Linked DNA regions of Homo sapiens: region 1 is linked to region 2. Evidence: promoter capture Hi-C in 16 types of primary human blood cells and fetal thymus (Javierre and others, 2016). All regions are on one chromosome and are shown on one strand. Each heading gives the region's core, a stretch centred on a gene start or on the middle of the fragment in contact. The rest is flanking DNA. Distances are from core to core; before and after follow the strand shown.

What was found. Contacts are between HindIII fragments. The CHiCAGO score rates a contact against its expected background, and 5 or more counts as called.
Region 1: a fragment that was not itself captured here is called in contact with the fragment with the promoter of PRKAG2-AS1 in region 2 in 1 of 17 cell types (naive CD8 T cells); the score reaches 5.1 in naive CD8 T cells.

The regions. Positions count from the first base shown.
Region 1 is chr7:152,137,443-152,143,773 of GRCh38, reverse strand. KMT2C (lysine methyltransferase 2C) reads left to right here. Exons shown (of 59, transcript NM_170606.3): 56 at 3,983-4,099; 57 at 4,515-4,588; 58 at 4,870-4,978. Among named protein-coding and RNA genes, the nearest start is that of GALNT11, 110 kb to the right of the region's middle. The HindIII fragment of the contact is 433 bases long and covers 3,654-4,086 here.
Region 2 is chr7:151,871,995-151,879,056 of GRCh38, reverse strand. It overlaps PRKAG2-AS1 (PRKAG2 antisense RNA 1), which reads right to left and starts at 2,015. Exons shown (of 3, transcript NR_038926.1): 1 at 1,917-2,015; 2 at 1,191-1,220; 3 at 1-495. It overlaps PRKAG2 (protein kinase AMP-activated non-catalytic subunit gamma 2), which reads left to right and starts at 1,942. Exons shown (of 16, transcript NM_016203.4): 1 at 1,942-2,550. The coding sequence starts at 2,437. RefSeq lists silencers at 1,448-1,877, 2,640-2,689, 2,750-2,889 and an enhancer at 3,080-3,199. The HindIII fragment of the contact is 12,278 bases long and covers 1-7,062 here.

The DNA.
Region 1 (6,331 bases), core at 2,621-5,120, 260 kb before region 2:
TAGGATCTTCTCTTTATTGATATTTGGACATTTCACAGAACTACACCTCAGTGGAGGTCTTTTTGTTGATTGCTTTCCTCCCTTGATGAGCCCTTTCAACCTGGAGCATCGTGACCTTCCGTCTGAGAAATGTGTTTTGTATTCATTCTTTTGCAAGTTCTGCCCCTCTGTTTCCTCTGTGTTTGCACTAAAACCCCTGAGATTCAGGATCTCACAGTGTGGACCTGAGACTAGAAGCAGCAGTGTCACCTGGGAGCTTGTTAGGATGTGCAGGTTCGGGGGCCCCAGCCCAGCCTCACTGAATCCAGCTCTGGAGGTGGGGCCTCCTGGATGATTCTCATGCATGTCAGAGAGTAATTTCTGTCTTATATCCTTTCTCCCCTTCTGTTCTTTGTTTCCTTGTCTCTCTGTTCTTTCTGAGACTTCCTCTACTTTATCTGCTAATCTTTCTTGTCTATTTTTAGAGATTAGCTACGAGCCCTTTCTGCTCTTGATCTTGTTTGATATTTTGTTTTTACATTATGAGTGGAGTATCTGTGTTTTCTCTGCTGTTGCCCCTCTCTGTTGAGCCTCTCTCGGATTCTGTGGGTGAATTAGTGCTTTGCCTCTACTCCTTCCAGTTCTAGCTTTCCCCTGCTAAGTCAATTACTTTTCATTTTAAATAGTCCATTCACTCTTATACCCATTCGTGTTCTCGAGGAGTGTGCTTTTACTGTGATTTTAGTGGGTATCTTAACTGTGTTCAACCTGTCACCTTTAACCTGAAGCATTTTTGAGAGCTCTGGTTTCTGTCTCTTTACTTATTTCATCCTGCCACCCTCCCATCTGTCCACCTCCCTGGGGATCCCGTGGATGATCTAATATGTATCCTGTTTTTCTGTGCTAATATCTTAGAACTATATACACTTTTATGTACATATATAAAAATGGAATCATGTTATATTTATTTTTCTCCGTCTTCCTTTTCTCTGTAATAATCAGAGGTCCCTCTCGATCAACTGACGTAGCTTCATTTCATTCTTTTGAATGGTTACCTGATGTTCCATAGTGTTGATGAACTGCAGTTAAACCATTGCATTACTGATGAGTGTGTATTTGATTTATAATTTTTCTCATAACAAACAGTGTTGCTATATCTTGTACAAATATCACAATGAATTAATAGTTTCACTCCTATGGGGTATATTCCCAAACGTGAGGTTTCTGTGTAAAAGCGTGTGTACTTTTCATTTAAATAGATATTGCCAGTTTTCTAAAAAGTCTCTTACTGCACACTTCTTCCTGCAGCATGTGAGACTGTTTTCTTGTTTCCCATTTGTAGCTGGTGTTACTATTTTTTTGTTTAGTTGGTCTGATAAATATAGACTGATGTTACCTTAATTGAATAGGCAGCTTTTCATGTCCGCCATTTGGATTTGCTTTCATAGGAATTGCGTATTCATATCCTTTGTCCATTTTTCAATTTTTAGCAGTTTACACTATTCAGAATTTTCCCCTACAAAATATCCTTTGCCTACCAGCAAGTGTGACATCTTTTTTCTTGTAAAAGTTACTGTTTATATAAACAAACATACATAATTTTCTGTTGCATCTAGTCTTGGTCAAGACCCTAGATTATATACGGATTCTAGAGGTTTTCTTGCATAACATTTTTAAAATACAATTTCGCTTTCTTCCATTGGATAACCAGTTGTTGAAGGGCCATTTAGAAGTAACCCACTCATTTTTAACTGATTTTCTTTCTTCTTCTTTGAGACAGGGTCTCACTGTGTCGCCCAGGCTGGAGTGCGGTGGCACAATCTCAGCTCACTGCAGCTTCGATCTCCTGGGCTCAAGCGATCCTCTTACCTCAGCCTCCTGAGTAGCCAGGGCTACAGGCGCATGCCACAATACTTGGCTAATTTTTAAAAATATTTATTTAGAGATGAGGTTTTGCCATGTTGTCCAGGCTGGTCTTGAACTTCTGAACTCAAGCAATTCACCTGCCTCGGCCTCCCAAAGTGCTGGGATTACAGGCATGAGCCCCCGTGGCTGGCATGAATTTTTTTTTTTTTTTTTTTTGAGACAGAGTCTTCCTCTGTCACCCAGGCTGGAGTGCAGTGGCACGATCTCGGCTCACTGCAACCTCTGCCTCCCAGGTTCAAGCGATTCTTCTGCCTCAGCCTCCCAAGTAACTGGGACTACAGGTGTGTACTACCATGCCCGGCTAATTTTTTTTTTTTTTTTAAGTAGAGATGGGATTTCACCATATTGGCCAGGCTGGTCCTCAAACTCCTGACCTTGTGACCCGCCCACCTCTGCCTCCCAAAGTGCTGGTATTACAGGTGTGAGCCACCGCACCTGGCCTTTTTCTTCTAACCCCACGAAATCTTGACTATAAACTGAATTTTAATACCAGTTACTACTGTACGTTAGATTTTCATACATGCAGGGATCTATTTCTCTTTTCTGAGATGGAGTCTCACTCTGTCACCCAGACTGGAGTGCAGTGGTGCCATCTTGGCTCCCAGATTAAAGCGATTCTCATGCCTCAGCCTCTGGAGTCTCACTCTGTTGCCCAGGCTGGAGTGCAGTGGCATGATCTCAGCTCACTGCAACCTCTGCCTCTGGGGCTCAAGCAATTCTCTTGGCTCAGCCTCCCTAGTAGCTGGAATTACAGGCACACGCCACCATGCCCAGCTAATTTTTGTATTTTTAGTAGAGACGGGGTTTCACCATGTTGGCCAGGCTGGTCTTGAACTCCTGACCTCAAGGGATCTGCCTGCCTTGGCTTCCCAAAGTGGTGGGATTATAGGCATGAGTCACCACGCCTGGCCCATTTGGAATCTCTTCATTTCCACTGATCTTGTTTATTCTTAAACCACACTCTATTGATCTCCATACATACTTTTTGTGTGTTCTGGTTCATTCACTTGTGAGTTGTATCTGGAGTAGAACAGATAATCAAAGATGCTTGTTCAGAGGATAAATCAGTTCACATACTAAAGTCTCTCACATGGCCCTTCCCACCATGTGCTCCCGGATGTGCTTCATGAGGATGCAGCTGGGGCAGCACATGGTCCTCCTAGTAATTCCGACTAGAATGCAGTTGATTTCTGCATTCTAGAATTCAGTTCAATTCTAGAATTGCATTCTAGTCTAGTACTTCTGATTCAGTTGCATCTAGTCTAGTACTTTTGCATTCAGTTGCCTTCTAGTCAGAATTAAGTGCAAAAACCCAAAATTGGGACAAGAAAATACAACTATTTATGGCAAAGACCCATATTTTGTTAGTATGTTTCTCTACAAGTTGTGCTACCAACCTGAATAGTGCACCTGGCAGGCCACCAGCACGGGAGTACAAGCTGCGCAGTGAGAGCTGCTTCCATTTCAGCCCGTTCAAACTTCTTTCCCAGCCTCAGAATTTTGTATTAGTGAAAAATTTACCTTCCCCAAGAGCTTCATTTGTTTCCAACATTCCTGATATTTACAGCAGAGTGACGTTTCCTGTGTCTGCTCTTTGCCCTGGCTGCTGGGAAACTCAGAGCCAAGTCTGAACCCTGTTTACAGTATCAGTGATTGGTTATAGTTAGCCTGATTTCTATGTTATTGAATTTATTATGTCTTTTTTGAAATAGTATTGGGGTAAAATAAACACCACAAGTCAATAAGCTTATTTAGTTGGTGGGAACTCAGCTATCTCATCTGGAAGGTTAGATAGCCTAATACATAAGACAGCCAAGCCACAGTACTACTTTATACATAGACTCTAAGAATTTAGTGCTAAAAAAGATGTAGGAATAAGCTAGTGATGGCATAGTTTTAAGTAGTAAAAATGTCCAATTTTTAAAATTTCAGAAAATAGCATATTCAAAAATGATTTGAGTTCAAGTGAAACTTAAGTATGGCTTCTAATAAGACCCGAGGGTGAAACCTTTGTATGAAAAACAGAAAAAAGACTTGTTGTCACATAAATTGGAAGTATGTACACACTTTTTTTTAGGGGCTGGGCCTGTATGCTGCTCGAGACATTGAGAAACACACCATGGTCATTGAGTACATCGGGACTATCATTCGAAACGAAGTAGCCAACAGGAAAGAGAAGCTTTATGAGTCTCAGGTAGGTGTCTGGTCCCCGAGATTGTATACACAGCACCATCATCCTCTCCCTTTCTCCGTGCCAGCCAGACACCCTGGAAGGCAGAATGAAATCTGTCATGCTGCATTCAGCTTTAAACAAAAGCCATATCTGTATATTAGTGTATTTTTATCAGTTGTATCTCTTTCAATTGGTGTTACAGTTTACTTTGATAGACAACTGTAAATTAATGAGCCTGGCTTCACACACAACCTACTGATTCCATGCTTTCCATTCGTGCCATGTAAATGTCATCTGTGCCTAATAGAATATCCACAGTAAGGATGATCAGGCTGCCGTTCCGTTCAGTTTCGACTGAGTCCTCCTGGTGTGGATAGGAACACAGAGGGGAGTTTCAGGTCGACATTGATGACTTACTGACTGACTTTTCCCTCAGAACCGTGGTGTGTACATGTTCCGCATGGATAACGACCATGTGATTGACGCGACGCTCACAGGAGGGCCCGCAAGGTGAGACAGCGAGGAACCTGACGGGGAGTGCTTTTGCTTGTGGGGCCAGTGCTGGTGGAGAGAACACTGAAGCCAAGGGAAAGGCTCTCACGGCAGCCTGGCGGTGACTAAACATTCAGAGCAAATGAGTTGAGAATTTTTATTTAAATGTTATATTTGTGCTTCTAACAATGGGCAAATAGAAATTTAATTAGCAAAAACTGCTTTATCAATAAATGGGAAGTTTTTAAAGCTGCTTCTAGCTGTTTTACAATACAGTTTTCTGACATGGTGGCTTGCAGGTATATCAACCATTCGTGTGCACCTAATTGTGTGGCTGAAGTGGTGACTTTTGAGAGAGGACACAAAATTATCATCAGCTCCAGTCGGAGAATCCAGAAAGGAGAAGAGGTAAGAGTGTGAGAGATTGCATCTGCCATGTTGTTCAGATCCTGGGCGAATAGTTCCCTCCTCACACAGGTCACTTACTCACTTGTTTCCCAATTCTTTGTTGTGATAAAAACTCTGTCCATAATAGGCCAGATGTTCCCACCCTGCAGTATCTCACCCTTCAGGCACTCCAGTTCACCTTCCTCCACATGGCAGCTCTGTGAGCATTTGCTGTCACCTCTCCCTTCCCTTCTGTGCCACGGGTTCAGCATCCCCATGGCACCCAGGTGGTATCATTTCTGTGTGCCATAGGATCCTTCTTTATCCCCTTAACCTGGACACAGTTTGGCAGTGTCCCCTCTGAAGAGCATCCCCGTCCTTCTCCAAGGGGGCCGTGGCTCCTGAGATGGCACTGTTGGGCTGTGGGCGGCAAATCTGGGCCGCCGTGCTGCTGAGGATTGTGTGCTCACGCTGGCGATCAGTGTGTGCTTAACCAAGTGCCCACATCGCCACATTCTTCAGCAGTTCAGGTGTGGGTTGTTGTCTTCAAAATGCCGAGTGCCAAGCTTGCTGTTTGTCTCCGTGCTCTCAGAGGTGACTCTGGTCCGGCGGCTCACCCATTGGGATTATTTTTGGCCTTAATTGCTGCATTTGCTTCCCACCTTGGTCTTTCCCACTGTGATTCAGGTACCTTGGTTCTGGAATTGGCATTTCCTGGAAAGCTGTCACTGAGCAGCAGGCTTGGTTTCTGTAGGAAACGTCCCGCATTTGGGGAGTGAGGCACCTGAGTGACTTGACTTTGTTGGTGCTCCTCTCCCTTCGTGAACATAGCCATGGGATTCGTGGGATTCTATCTGTATTTTGGGTCTTTGTGGAATCTCCTTTCTTAGTCAAGAATAAGGATCCGACTAGACCCAAGGCCCGTTATACATCTCAAAGTAACGTGTAAATAAGACAGTGTGTGGGAGCCCTGGCACAGTGCCAGTAACCAATGGCTACCATGGTGGTCAGAAGAGACTCAGCCCAGGGCCACCTGCCTCCTTCCTACTTGAGTATTCTTGAGTAAATAGTTTAATATGAGCCCCTATTTTATCTTCTGCAAGATAGAGAAAATGACTTCCTTACCAGGCTCTTGGAAGGACTCAGCAGATACCTGAAAGAAAGCAGTGGAATCATTGCCAAGAACAGCTGCTCAATAAACACTGGTTTCCTTCCTTTCTGTGTAGAAGGTCTTTCCAGCTAGCGTCTAGAATCATTTCACTCAGAAGAGACCTAGAAATTCCTGGGCCTCCCCTTCATTTTGCAGCATCGGCTCTCTCTGGGGTGGTGGGGGTTGCAGGGCCGCGCACTGAGGCTTGTACCGTGGGACTCACG
Region 2 (7,062 bases), core at 766-3,265:
GAAGCGCCATCGCGGTTTTCTCCTTCTGGGTCACCCAGTGGAATGAGGGCCCTCGCCAGGGGCTCTTCCCAGACGTCTCTTCACACCAACCGGCTTCCTTCTGATGGCCCCATTTTCCTTTAAAACCAGTTCTCATCAAATAGGGTGTTTTATGCACCCTGGCAAATGATCATTTTGACAAGGATTAAAACTGTAAGCTAAACAGATGACACAAATGACAATTGGGAATAATTTTTAGTGGGGACAGAGGCTAAATACTACCCCCTCCCCTTTTCTACTTCTAACCAATATCTTGAGCATTCAGTGGGACAATACAGTCTTGCTGGGTCTCTTGAAATCCTCTAGCAAGAAGCCAGCCAGGAGAAGACCCAGAAGTCCCACACCTGTGGGGCCAGGATGGCTGCTTGGTTGCTAAACCCAGACAGGGTCCTTCCAGTGCATCTGCCCCTGTCAGGCTCTGTCTCGAGACTGGGGATCTTCCAGGCTGGCTTCATTCTGGACCAGAGAGCAGAGGAGAAGGAGAAAGAATATAAACCCACCCCTATGAGCCAGGGAACCACCCAAGCTGTAAGGATTTTGTGCAAGCTGCTGGAACTCGGGTTGGAAAAGCCACCCGGCAAGCAGCTGAAAGGAAGGATGCTTCTCCCTGCGTGGGCGCACGCCTGCTTCCTAAGAGATGATCCTTTGGGTGGGCTGATCATGCCTCCTCCTCTGGGGAGGGAGTCCTGCGAAAGCACGCACCTCAAAAGGAGTAAAGGCCCTATGGTGTCCCCAAAGCGACCCCTGTCGCGTTCTTTCTGCGGGTGGCCTCCCTGCATTACTGATTACTCGGAGCGGCTGAGCTGACGTCAGCATTCTGGGAGCGCCAATGACCTTTGGGGTCATCACATCCTCAGAAACTAGAGCAGGAGGGGAAGCGACCCCCAAGCCAGCACTCCCCCTACTTTCCACCAGGGAGCCGAGGTCGCGCCATCCTGGGGCGCATCTGGGGGTGGGGGACACACCAGCCCCCTCCCCCAACCCCTCTAGGGCCCTCGGCAGCAGGCGGTACTGGATGCCCACCCGGGGCTCTAAAGGACCTGGGCCGCACCGGGAACCCTCGCCCGGGTCTTCGAGCCCTCCCCTTCTCCCAATTCTTTCCGCAGTCTCAGGAGCCCCACGTTTCCCGCGGCGTGGGGACACGCACTTACCGCGGATCCACTGCGCAAACCTTGATGAACCTGAAAAAAGCAGGGTGGGGTGGGGTGGGGTGAGGGTGGGGGTGGCTAGACCCTGCTCGCACCCAGCGCCACGCACCGCTCTCTGGGCGGGTTCGAGTGCGCGCGCCGGGCGGGGCGGGACCCGGGGGCTGCGGTGTTTCGAGAAGCACGTGCTACTTCGCGCGCAGCGCCCCCGGAGACTGTGGGCTTCCTCGCTGCCTGGTCTACGGCAGGGCGGGCGCGGGGGCGTGTTTCAAAGGGTAGGGCACACAGTGAGACGCCGGGAGGCGGGATGGATCCGAAACCAGCTCGCAGCGAGTCCCAAGCGGCTGCGGCCGCCGCAGGGGTCTGGGCGCGGCGACGAGGGCGGCGTGGGGCGACGGGGAGCGGGACGGTGGCGCTGCACGCCGCGCACTTCCTGTTCAACACGCGCCGCCTCCCACCACCCGCGCTCCCCGAGCTTGCGTCGGTGCCAGGCCCGGCCCCTCACTGTCCCCTTGCGGTCCCCTGGGGCCGCGGCGCGGCGGGGGGCGAGGAGCGGGCGCCCTGCCCTTCTTGGCCCGCTGGACTCCGGGCGCCCCCTCCGGCGCGCAGGGCCGCGAGCGCCGCCGCCAGAACTTCTGCCAGCGGCCGCCCGTAGCCTAATTGCGCAGAGGGCTCGCCTTGCACCTCCTCTTCCCCCGCCGCCCTCCCTCTCGCCCAGAAAGGAGGACGGACCCAGCTGCAGGCTCCGAGCTGGTTTATTCTGCGGCCGAGGATTACATTTATGCACGAACGGGCTTACTGGTTCCAGATTCCCCACTTGGGCACAGGCATAGGAGGCTTGTTTTCCAAATTGCTGGTTTTAATTGCACCTGCCTTTCAGATTACCTCTGGGAATCTGTGGGAGGAGCCGAGAGGGTGGAAAATGTTTCTTAGCTTTGCAAAAGGAAGAAAACTTTGTCACCCAGCGGGAGACCTCAGCCACGAGTAACCCGGGGAGACACCAGAACCGGGACGGGCTTTGACTGATTTGCCTACGAGGGTTCCGTAGGAAAGGACGCTTGAATTCGGCGCTTCGGCGGCGGCGGCGGCCGCGCGAGTTCCCTGCTCACCCTCCCTCTCCGCGGAAGTCCCCACGAGGTGGCTTCAGGGTGTAACAGAGCGCGCGGCTCCAGTCCGAAGGCAGCGGCCGGGGGAGGGAAGGAGGGGACCGAACCCCCGAGGAGTTTCGCAGAATCAACTTCTGGTTAGAGTTATGGGAAGCGCGGTTATGGACACCAAGAAGAAAAAAGATGTTTCCAGCCCCGGCGGGAGCGGCGGCAAGAAAAATGCCAGCCAGAAGAGGCGTTCGCTGCGCGTGCACATTCCGGTGAGTCCCAGCACTCGGTCCCCTGCTCCCCAGCCCTCCTGTCGCTCCCGTCCCCGGCGCCGAAGCGGTTAACGCTGGACGCCCCGCGCGCGCCGTGCGTGCCCCTCCTGTCACTTCGGGCGGCTTGGGGAAAGGGTAGAGGGACAGGGCCCGAGCTGGGCTGGCGGAGCCGGGGCTCAATCTCTCTCTCTGCCCGCGTGCAGCCAGGGCTGGGGCTCCGCCTGGGGCGGGGGCTGGGCGGCTGCAGACTAGAGGGGGCGCCGGGCGCGGCGGGTGGGCGGCTGGGCGTAGCCCGGTATCCAGCCGGGTGCGGGTGCGGGGGGCGGTGCGTTGTGTTGTTTTGCTGAAAAGGGACGGTGTGGACTGCGCTCCGGGGAGGTGGAGCCCGCGCTCGGCTGCTGGAGACGGAGAGAGGGGAGGGGAGGGAGGAGAGGGGAGGGGCGGTGGGTGGGGAAAGCAGCGGGGCGGGGGTTGGGGGGAGCTGTGTAGCTGCGTCTTCCAATGCACCCCCTCCGCTCCAGTTTCTCTCCGGGCGTTTCTGGGCCTGGAGCGGGGGTCTCCTCTGCCGCCGTTCCCTTCCCCCGCCCCGGGAGTGTACTTTGGGTCTCTGTGGTATTTGGGGGCTCGGAGCTCCCTAATCCGTGCAGGCTGCATTGAACTTCAGCCCCGTCCGCGCCAGCCGCCCGGGAGGACATTGGCGACTCGGATCTGCCTGCGGCTTCACTTTGTCCAGCCAGAGGGGCGGCGGGCCGCGTAGTGGTTCTCTTTTCGGAAGGCGCCCCGGTAGCCCGCGGCCACTGTTCCTCGCCTCCACGTAGCGGGGTAGGGCGGTGGGAGGTGTGGCCCACTGGGTCACACCCTCCGCCTCAGCCAACCAAGTAAATGTTTGTGTACACACACACACACACACACACACACACACACACACACACACACACACACACCAGAGTGCTCCGTAGAGAAAGTTATTTTGCTCTCCCGGGGCAGGGTGGGAGTGCGCAGTGAATGGGCTGTCCGGACCCCTCATTAAAGCTAATCCTTCCCGACAGGGTCAGGCGCAGCTGGCATGGCCGAGGCAGGCCACTCACTTCCCACTGTGAATCCCAGGGCGCACTGCCCCGTGTTTGCTGAGCCACCCTTCTTTTAGACGCCCCGCTAAGGTCCTCCTGTGTAAACTCCGGCCCACACGTGCCTAACGCTTGGGTGAAGAGGGTGGAGTCCAGGGGCGGGTCTCCAGACACCTGATGCCAAGTAGCCCCACAGGGGCCCTGGGCCAGCCCTCCCTGGCTGGAAAGCTCTGGGGCTGGAAACTTGGACCCCTGGCTGCTGTGTGGCCCCCACGGTGGTGACTCGATTATGCAGGAATAAGTGTTCTATTTGAAAATGAAACATTCTTGTTTACATCTCTCATGTAAGACATTTAAAACCATGTTCGTGAGTTAAAAGTTAGATGTTGCTGCCACAAACCTCTTAAACAGTGATCACTTGAGCTAACCGTGTAACTACTGTTTCTCCCATTTGTCAAATGCAGGAAATAATACCCATTTTTCCTGCTTTATACGGATATTGAAATAAAGTAATTCATGGGAAAACTCTTTTTTATTGTTTTTTTTGTTTTGAGTCAGGGTGTCACTCTGCTCCCCAGGTGGGAATGCAGTGGTGCAATCATGGCTCACTGCAGCCTCAACCTCCCCAGGCTCAAGTGATCCTCCCACCTCAGCCTCCTGAGTAACTGGGACTACAGGCATGTGCCACCACACCCATCTAATTTATTTATTTTTTTTGTAGACATGAGGTTTTACCATGTTGCCCAAAGCTGGTCCACATGAGCTGGGCTCGAGTGACCCGCCCACCTTGACCTCTCAAAGTGCTGGGATTACAGGCGTGAGCCATCACACCCATCCCGGGAAAACTCTTGACAAGTGTAAAGTGTCCTATAAATGTATGGCTTATACATATACATATACATATACATATACATCATATACATATACATATACATCATATACATATACATCATATACATATACATCATATACATATACATATACATCATATACATATACATATACATCATATACATATACATATACATCATATACATATACATATACATCATATACATATACATCATATACATATACATATACATCATATACATATACATATACATCATATACATATACATCATATACATATACATATACATCATATACATATACATATATATCATATACATATACATATACATCATATACATATACATATACATCATATACATATACATCATATACATATACATATACATCATATACATATACATATACATATACATCATATACATATACATCATATACATATACATATATACATATACATCATATACATATACATATACATCATATACATATACATCATATACATATACATATACATCATATACATATACATATACATACATATACATCATATACATATACATCATATACATATACTTATACATATACATCATATACATATACATATACATCATATACATATACATATACATCAGACACCTAGTTTTTTAAAAAAATATATAGAGAGAAACAAGAACATGCCATTGTCCAGTGGTTGGGCCATTTTGTGTGGCAGCCACATGCTGAGGCTGGTTCCAAATGCAGGGTGTGAGTGATGTGTGGGCGTGCCCGTGGGGTGGTGCCAGCGATAGTGTGAGACAAAATCCAGAACCAGAAAAAGGACTGTGAGGCCAGGCCGTGAACGTTGAAAAACCATGTTATAGTTGGGGTCCTCGGACCACCCTTCTTGCTGCCAGTGGTGACTTTGGCAGCTTTTCATAACGTTCTTGGCATGAGCCAGCCCACCGCGAAAGTAGTATTCATTCAGTTATTCCACAGTGGCTGAGGGTGACCACGTGCCCAGGCTCTGGTTAGGGTGAGATCTGGGGAAGATCTGCCCAAGTCCTCACAGGGCTTGCAGTTGCTTTGGGTACCAGGGAGGTCCCCTCATCTGCCTAATGGTCATTACCTATGGATCATTGTGCCAGGCTAGGTGGCAGTTATAACCTCGCTGGGAAAATGAGGCTTTCAGACAAAGGCTAGCAAATGATCCAGGGTCATACGATGGCCAGTGCAGACCACACCTGTTTCTAGAGGCAGAAGGAGCGATGACAGTGGCCTGATGTGTTTAGAGAGACTTTACACCCAGAGATGGCAGGCAGGAGTCACGTAGAAGTGGGGGTGATACTCCCACTAAGGAACCAGTGGGAGCACCCCACAGAATCGGGCGGGAGGGGATGGCTGCTTCCAGGTGAAGAGCCACGCCTCCTGGCGAAAGGGTTTGAGAGCTAGAGTCATAGGAAATGCTTTGAGACTGGATCAGGAAGGACCTGGACATAGGGTTGCCAGCTGTAGTAACTAAAAATACAAGATGCCTAGTTGAATCTAGATTTCAGGTAGACAATGAATCATGTTTTAGCATAGGTATGCGCCATACAATATTTGGGAAATACTAAAAAGTATCCATTGTTGATGTGAAATCCCAGATTAATGGGGGCGTCCTGTATTTGATCTGGCAATGCTGCCTTGAAGACCAGGCCTAAGGCGTGAGGACCCCCTCCTGAAGGCGTGAAGAAGCTGCGGTGGACGCTGTGGATAGCCTCCTCCTGGTGCCTGGGGCCCAGCCCACCCTCACCTGCAGCCTTGGTGGACTGCCTCTTACTCGTGTCTCCCTCCCCACCTGAAGGAATCCTCTCAGACCCTGGCAGCTTGCTCAGCCTAGTGCAGGAACCCCTGGAAGTGCTGGGATTATGCCCTGAGGGGCAACCCTCAACCCAGGAGGGGTCCAGTTGGTGGCCAATGGCCCAGCCGCCCTGCTGCTCAGTGGGAAGTTCTGACCTGGGTTCTGCAGGATGCCTCAGGGGATCCCTAGCAGGGTGGGGATCCACAGTGTAACCCACTCGTTAATGCACCTTACTGGCCCTTCTGGCCAGTTCCTGCCTCAGTTTCCCCATTCCCTTGTCTGCACTCCCTGGGATAAACTCCTGAACCTAAGTTCCTGTCTGAGTGTCTTTTCTGGGGGGACCTGAACTAAGAAGCCATTAAAGGTAAAGAAAACAGCATTCCATGGGAATCAGCCTGGAAAAGTGTACAGAGTGGAGTGATGGGAAACGGGCTGGTGTCAAGGAAACCAACTCAAGTACTTTGGCAAAAGCCCCCCCCCAGGGTAAGGGTCCGAGGGCCTGAACTGCAGCTGTGATGAGAGAATGCAGAAGGGCAGACGTGGGACGTGAGAAGGCCAGCCTAGTGGATGGCAAGGGGTTGAGGTGGCAGGAACTGATGTGGAGGTATTTGGGATAAGGGGCCGGTTCTTGGGGGAAATGATGAGTCTGGTCATAGCCCGGGTGTGTCTCAGCAGAGGGCAGCACGTCCATGGGGAATCACATTTGCTTCCTCACCCCAGCCTCAGAGGACTGTGGTGTGCAGGGACTGCCACTGCCAAGGACATCTTGGA